Linked DNA regions of Homo sapiens: region 1 is linked to region 2. Evidence: promoter capture Hi-C in human tissues and cell types (Jung and others, 2019). All regions are on one chromosome and are shown on one strand. The core of a region is centred on a gene start or on the middle of the fragment in contact, and the rest is flanking DNA. Distances in the headings are between cores, read along the strand shown.

Region 1 (3,434 bases), core at 500-2,999, 140 kb after region 2:
TTATTATTATTAAGAGATAGGGTCTCACTCTGTCGCCCAGGTCATAGTTCACTGCAGCCTCGAACTCCTGGGCTTAATGATCCTCCTGCCTCAGCCTCCCGAACAGCTGGGACTACAGGCGTGCTCCACAACATCCTCTGTAGAGACAGAGTCTTGCTATGTTGCCCAGCCTTCTCTAGAACTCCGGGCCTTAAGCAGTCCTCCTGCTCTGACTTCCCAAAGTGCTGGTATTATGGGCATGAACCACTGCACCTGGCCTACGCATAGCTTTAGAGTGACACTGTCATTTTATGAGCTGTTGATGGTGTGGTTACTAAGAATGGTTTTTATTTTTGCAGAACTTAAAAGTTGTTTTCAGTTCTTCCACAGTTTTATAGCTGGAAAATGGTAAGAGAGAACCACATTTTATAGGTCAGGGGAATCGAGGTCTAGAAAACAGGACTGGCAGAGATGCTGCTTTGTTCTTTCCACTTAACTGTGGTTTAATATAATATTCCTGTTGTCTCAGTGACACGGAAAGAGCTACAGGTCACTTTCTTATTGTGGTAAGAATGAAGAACTCTTTCTAGATAGTTCACAATATGAGTACTTTTTTTTATTTGAAGTGTATGGAATATTCCGAGTATTTGATAAAACTATGTAAGTTTGATGATAATTTGCTTTTTATTAGGGTGAGTCAGAGTCTGCATATGGAATCTGGAGTATGAACTCCGTTACTATTAAACTAAGTCAGTCCATAATGTAATTTGTTGATTTTGGTTTCACTTGAACTTAATAATACCTTGTATTTATATAGTGATTTTCTTCTCAGGAGTGGTAGGTACTTTACAGATACTTTATTATACTGTAACATAGGTGCTGGGAAAAATAGAAGCGTTCATGTTTTTATAAGTGGAAAAGCATCAACACAGGTTTTCTCACTGAGCATAATCACAGAAATCTGTTATCCAAGTCAGGTGTCTGAAGGGTACGCAGGGTGGCAATCCAGGGATCCTTGCTTTTTATAGAGCTGAAACATTATTTGGTGGAATAGATATAGAAATTATCAAGAATATGGTAGAAAGAGCTTGATGAAACATTCTTGTAATTTGTTCACCAAAGTGGGTGAATCCCTGCATTGAAGACAATGTGAAGATGCTGAAAAAACACATCTTGCCCACCCTTTTTGCCTTAGGTAAGGTGCCAGTTACGGAGTTCAGATATAGTTATGTTTTAAATGTTAGCTATCCATGAGAGTATTTTATTAATTTTTTGAAAGTTTTTTGTATTGTTAGGAAAGTAGGATCTGTAAAGTTTCATCGTGCACTCAAGTATGTTCTTATGCTGAGTTTGGTCATATTTGAGAATTTTCCTTTTGATGTTATTGTTAAGCCAAATGTGAAGGCTTGACAGAGTGGTTCTTGGAAAAGCCAGTATTATTACTACTGTTACTTCTAACAGAGATGAAGTAATGAGATTTCTTTCATTAGCTCATTGTCTCATTGTGAACATTTACAGATCAAAAGCTTGTTTTTCGTTCGTTTATTTTTTTGGCATCCAGTGATCTTATATTTCCATATCTTGACTGAGTTAAAAGACTTAAGGTAAATCCGAATCTTCTTTTGTTCTCTCTAAATATTCTCTATAACACATTTAGCCATGAATTATGTGGTGAAACTTTTCATTGAAAATACTGAATAAAATAATCGGAATACTGTGCTTTTTGACATGTCTAATAGGAACATTGAGTTTCTAGTGGACGTTTGAACTTTTGAAAGTTAAAATTACATGCCTGTTGGTTTTGGCTTAGTTATTTAGCAGTGAATTATAATATTGATTCAGATATGTAACTTGTTTTTTATTACATAAGTGGAGTCCTCTGAGTAAATTTAAATTTGCAGTTACTTGCGCAGTGATTAATCATAGAATTGGATTTTTTCTGAAGAGATGAGAAATTTAGATGTTTAATATGTTACATATGTGCTTCTGTGGTGGCAGTTGAAGGAGAAAGTAAACTACTTTTAATTTCTTCTGGGAAGAAATTCAGTTTTTGAGAACTTGCCAGAAATCTTCCCTATCAGGTTGAAGATTTTTAGGAGGGATATGGAGGGTAGGTGGGAGAATGGGATGTATACACAAACATAAACACTACTGGACGGCAAAATTATATTGTTTCTCTTTCTTCCTGCAATGGAACAAATGGTTTTCAGAAGACCTGTGATAGGAATAGAGGCAAAGGCCCTTTGATCATGTGATTATTAGAGCTTGATAACTGGTTGTACAATATTTCATTTCTCTCAGACTTAGCAACATGTTCTGACTTCTCCATTAGTGTTGGCAGCTGAACCTCTCTGTTCCCTTTTATGTCATTGGTACCATATATCTTACTGAGGGTCACTTTGCTTTGTGCCGATTTCTGATTTTAAGCCTTTTGCAAGCTTCTGCCATGTGTACCACAATGGTGCAATGCCAGTTTTAGGTCTAGACCCTTCTACTTTTTATGGTGCACATTTTAACTTTGATGGGATAGTTAAAAACTATGAGATTTCTTTCAGTAGCTCATTGTCTCATTGTGAACATTTACAGATCAAAAGCTTGTTTTTTGTTTTAACATAGAGGAGGCCACTAGAGGAGGAAGTATAGACCAAGACTCTTAGGATGACTGCAGATCAGTGCAGAACCCCCAGATACTTTCCCTCCCAGCCACAGAAATTGTGTCAGGACTGTGTTTTTTGAAAGACTCATCTGAAGGAAGGAGTAATAGATGGCATTGTAGTTGGGATGGAGGAAGATGGGCAAAGGAAGTTTGCTTTGTGCCTGTTGTGCCAGGCATTGTTCTGAACATCTTCTATACATTTTTCACAGAAACAAGCCATGTTGCAAGTCTTGTTTGCCCTTTTTTGCAGATTAGTAATTTGGAGCTCAAATGTTTAGAACAAATATTTGTTCTAAATTTAAACTTTGGTAACTCTACAGTAGTGCTGCTATTTTAGAATTGTAGCATTTTGGGTTTGCAATAGGTGCTACAAATCTGGTCTCCTGTCTTGCTGATGAGAAAACTGAGGCAGTGTTTTATTGCAGTGGCTCAGTAGTTTAGTTTATATTAGAATGGGGACACGAATGCAGCCTCCTGGTTTGAAGGCTGTCACCCAGTCCCCTGCCCAGCCTGCGGTTGGAACGTTTAAATGCCTACTCTTTGTAGTTCAGGGTTTTCATTGTACCAACATGAAAAGCTATAATGAAAATACCCCTAAAGAAAGAGTCAAAGCCTGGCTTGTTTAGTTCCATCTGTTTGTGCTATTCCTTTCTGTTTGTTTGTTTTCCTTCTCACAGGCCCCTCAGCTGCAGGTCTGTTGGAGTTTGCTGGAGGTCCACTCCAGACCCTGTTTGCCTGGGTATCACCAGCAGAGGCTGCAGAACAGCAAATATTGCTGCCTGATCCTTCCTCTGGAAGC
Region 2 (3,552 bases), core at 795-3,294:
TGATATGGAAAGAACAGATTCCCAGGCAAACTCCCTGCCTGAGTTACTTTATTAGCTGTTATCCCTGCATTATTTTTAAACCCCTTGCTTGTCAGGCAGTCTCTGGTGAACCATGGCTGACTGAAGAATGACCTCAAACCAGAATGGCTCAAGTTTTAGGAAACACTAACTCATAATAAACAAAACTTTGAAAATAAGCCAAGATAAATATCTATTCCCAAACTCATAAAAACATTTTTAACATGCACTTCTTAAGAATGTTACAGAAAGAAATTCCTTTCTTAGGGTTCTTCCACAAGACCTTTCCTCTGGAGAACGGAGTAGCAATTAGTAACTGGTTAATAAACAAGTTACATTCTAGACCCTCTGCCAAGGGGTTATCTGATTGCAATTACTGACTTGAGGGAACAGCCATTAACAGCAGCAGTTCAGCAGTGCTTGGGCCGGGCGCTGTGGCTCATGCCTATAATCCCACCACTTTGGGAGGCCGAGGTGGGCGGATCACTTGAGGTCAGGAGTTCGAGACCAGCCTGGCCAACATAGTGAAACCCCATCTCTACTAATAAATAAATAAATAGATAAATAGCTGGGAGTTCCGGCGGGTGCCTGTAGTCCCAGCTACTCGGGAGACTGAAGCAGGAGAATCGAGGAGAATCGCTGGAACCTAGGAGGCGGAAGTTGCAGTGAGCTGAGATCCAGCCACTGCACTCCAGCCTGGGCAAGAGTGAAACTCCGTCTCAAAAAAAGCAGAGCTTGCCAGGGGAGAAGAGTCTCTCCCATCAGAATCCTACCTCTTTTTTTGTTTTGTTTTGTTTTGTTTTAAACGTTTTTTTCTTTGTTAATGGTTCCATGGCTACCTCCGGAAGAAATGGTGAGACCTGCTTAAGTAGTGATGGCCCACCAGGGTTGCAAAGTGAAGTTAAGTCAGGTGCTTAACAAGAGGAGGCTGCTTCTAACCATGCCTCCCCCTTAGAGAGTTTCTAACACCCCAACCACTGGCCCCACCTGTGGACAGCCCATTCCTCCCTCTAAACGCACAGGTCGGTTTAGATGCCTTGCTCAGACCCCTGCGCCCAGCATGGGCGCCCTACGTGCTGTGCCCACTGGGGTGGTCTCACGGGTGGGGGTGAGCTGTTTGCCCCTGGCGGTTCTTACCTGGACGCCCCCGGGAGTATCCTGGATCTGCAGGGAGAGCTGGTCCCCCTCGACATAGACCAGCCGTGAATACAGCTTGCCTGGAGAATGAAGTAGAGTTTGCTTTTTAATTCTCAAACTCCCATCCGTAAAAAGAAACACGCAAGCATAAAAGCAGGGAGCGTGAAAGTATTCTCACCTGTATTCGGTTCATAGTCTCCAATGAATCTCTTGGTCAGGAAGCGCACGATCATTGCTGAAAAGGAAATAGGAAAATCAACCGAAGGAGTAGAACAAGCCTGTCAAACCCAGGCACCTCGGACAAACTGGGGGGAGTGAAGGGTGCAGAACCGTGGGCACTGCTCGCTTCCAGAGGCTCCGCAAAGCCGTGGTGCCGCGGGCTTGGCCGCGAGTACGACTGGCGGGACACCTCTCCCGCACCCCATCCCCGAACAGGCGCCAATCCCGCCGAGATCCCAGGAGTAGATGCACCAGGAAACGCCAGGGAAGCAGGCCGGGACGGACCGGGACCCACCCAGCGCGAAAGCAGCCCGATTCTACCTGCACCCGCGCCCTCTGCTTCGGCCGAGGCGCCCTCTCTCCGCAGCGCCCCCAGTGGTCGCGGCCGGAGCCGGGGAGCGAAGCCGCCCGGGGGTCCCCGCCGCACTCACCGCTCTTGCCCACGCGGCCGGCGCCCAGCACCGCCAGTTTGATGTCCTTGGGCAGTAGGTAGTCCGAGGAGGACTCGGGGATGGGTGCGAGCAGAAAGTGCCCGGACATGCTGAGCGGCCGCATGGAGCGCGTCCCGGGGTCCGGCGCGCAATCCGAGAGGGCTGGGCCTCGCCGCACCCGGAGCCGGCTCGCCAGCTGGGAGTGCGGGACTAGAGGTCCGGGACCGCGGCGGCTGCCTGCAGAACTGTCAAGGCCCGCGGCTTTTAAAGGGCTTGGTGCGCCCGGGAGCGCGGCGGCCGTCCCAGCTCCTCCTCGTCTCCGCCCCTTCCCGGAGCGGCCGGGAGGGGCGGGAGCAGAGGCCGCGGAGCTGACTATCGCCGAGGCTGTGCGCTTCGCCGGGCTGCTAGCTGCTCGCGGCTCCAGGCGCTCTGCGGCAGGACTGCGGCTCCGGGGCTCAGACCCTGGAGATACGGCCACCGTCCAGAGCGCGCGAGTGGCCTCTAGTCAGGCATTCTGCGAGTCTCCTCGCCCCGCAGCAGCCAGCCGGAGTCACTAGACCTGTGGGTGAACTTGAGATAGGAGTTACGAGTTGACGAGAGAAGAAGAAAAAGTGCAATCAGTTGGATGTTTCTGCAACAATGGGACAGATTGCTGTAAAACGCTGCCCTTTTTATTTTTAAAAGGTGCTAAGGGGCTGGGCGCGGTGGCTTACGCCTGTAATCCCAGCACTTTGGGAGGCCCAGGTGGGCAAGATCATCTGCGGTCAGGAGTTCAAGACCAGCCTGGCCAACATGGCGAAACGCTGTCTCTACTAAAAATACAAAAATTAGCGGGGCGTGGTGGTGGGCGCCTGTAATCCCAACTACTCGGGAGGCTGAGGCAGCAGAATCGCTTGAACTAGGGAGGCGGAGGTTGCAGTGAGCCGAGATGGCACCACTGCACTCCAGCCTGGACCACAAGAGCGAAACTCCGTCTCAAAAAAAAAAAAAAAAGAAAGAAAAGAAAAGATGCTAAGGGGTAACATTAATATGGGAAAAGGGCGGGGGGCGGGGGGCAAGAGCTCTGAATTAGTATCAGTGGAGGCAACTGCAGTCACTGTGACCTTGCTAGGGATAGATGAAGTCCCCTTAGGGGCAGTGATGGTTAGCATCTCAGTATCCATGCCCAGCCCCTCCTCTGCAGGCAGGGGTTGCACTGGCTCATTCCTGAACACTCATGAGCACTCCACTGGCTGGGGGCCCTGGCCCTGCACTAAGTGTCCATCATTAATACTATCCTATGTGCTTGAGTCATGCATTTGCTTCAGTATCCAAATATTTACTTCTAGGTGCATGGTGGGGTCTAGGGTGGGGTGGGGGGCAGTGTGAGGAACAGGACACAGAGCTATAGACTGGTTCTTGGATTTCTGGAGCCCACCAGAAATAGCACAGCAGAAGCCTCAGGACTTTAACCTTGAACAGTTAGAAGACCTTCATGCCTCTGACCTCCTGTGTTCCAGCCTCACTTGCCTAATCGCCTATTAGACAGCCCCACCCTAATTCATACCTTTCTCTACCCTGGTTGTACCAGTTTTTGCTGCATGACAAGCCACACCAAACTAGATGGCTTAGAACAACAATCACTTACAGTTGTTGAGCCCTTTGATGCATCTGCAGGGAGCTTCCAGGTTCTGGAAGTGGGGGCTGGCTGCCCTTGGATAGCCTTACTCATGTCTGGCAGCTGTTGGCTGTGATGAGGGAGGGTAGT

The links. Contacts are between HindIII fragments. The study calls those that stand out against the background at their distance.
Region 1: a contact is called between a fragment that was not itself captured here and the fragment with the promoter of RASL11A in region 2, in 3 of the 25 tissues and cell types used here (H1 embryonic stem cells, heart left ventricle and small bowel).

What each region holds. Positions count from the first base shown.
Region 1 is chr13:27,126,266-27,129,699 of GRCh38, reverse strand. All of the region lies in intron 1 of USP12 (ubiquitin specific peptidase 12), which reads left to right. All of the region lies in intron 1 of USP12-AS1 (USP12 antisense RNA 1), which reads right to left. Among named protein-coding and RNA genes, the nearest start is that of USP12-AS1, 2.4 kb to the right of the region's middle. RefSeq lists an enhancer at 3,377-3,434. The HindIII fragment of the contact is 5,304 bases long and covers 1-3,434 here.
Region 2 is chr13:27,269,322-27,272,873 of GRCh38, reverse strand. It overlaps RASL11A (RAS like family 11 member A), which reads right to left and starts at 2,044. Exons shown (of 4, transcript NM_206827.2): 1 at 1,806-2,044; 2 at 1,334-1,390; 3 at 1,156-1,235. The coding sequence starts at 1,929. RefSeq lists silencers at 1,644-1,873, 1,914-2,133 and an enhancer at 2,082-2,582. The HindIII fragment of the contact is 19,308 bases long and covers 1-3,552 here.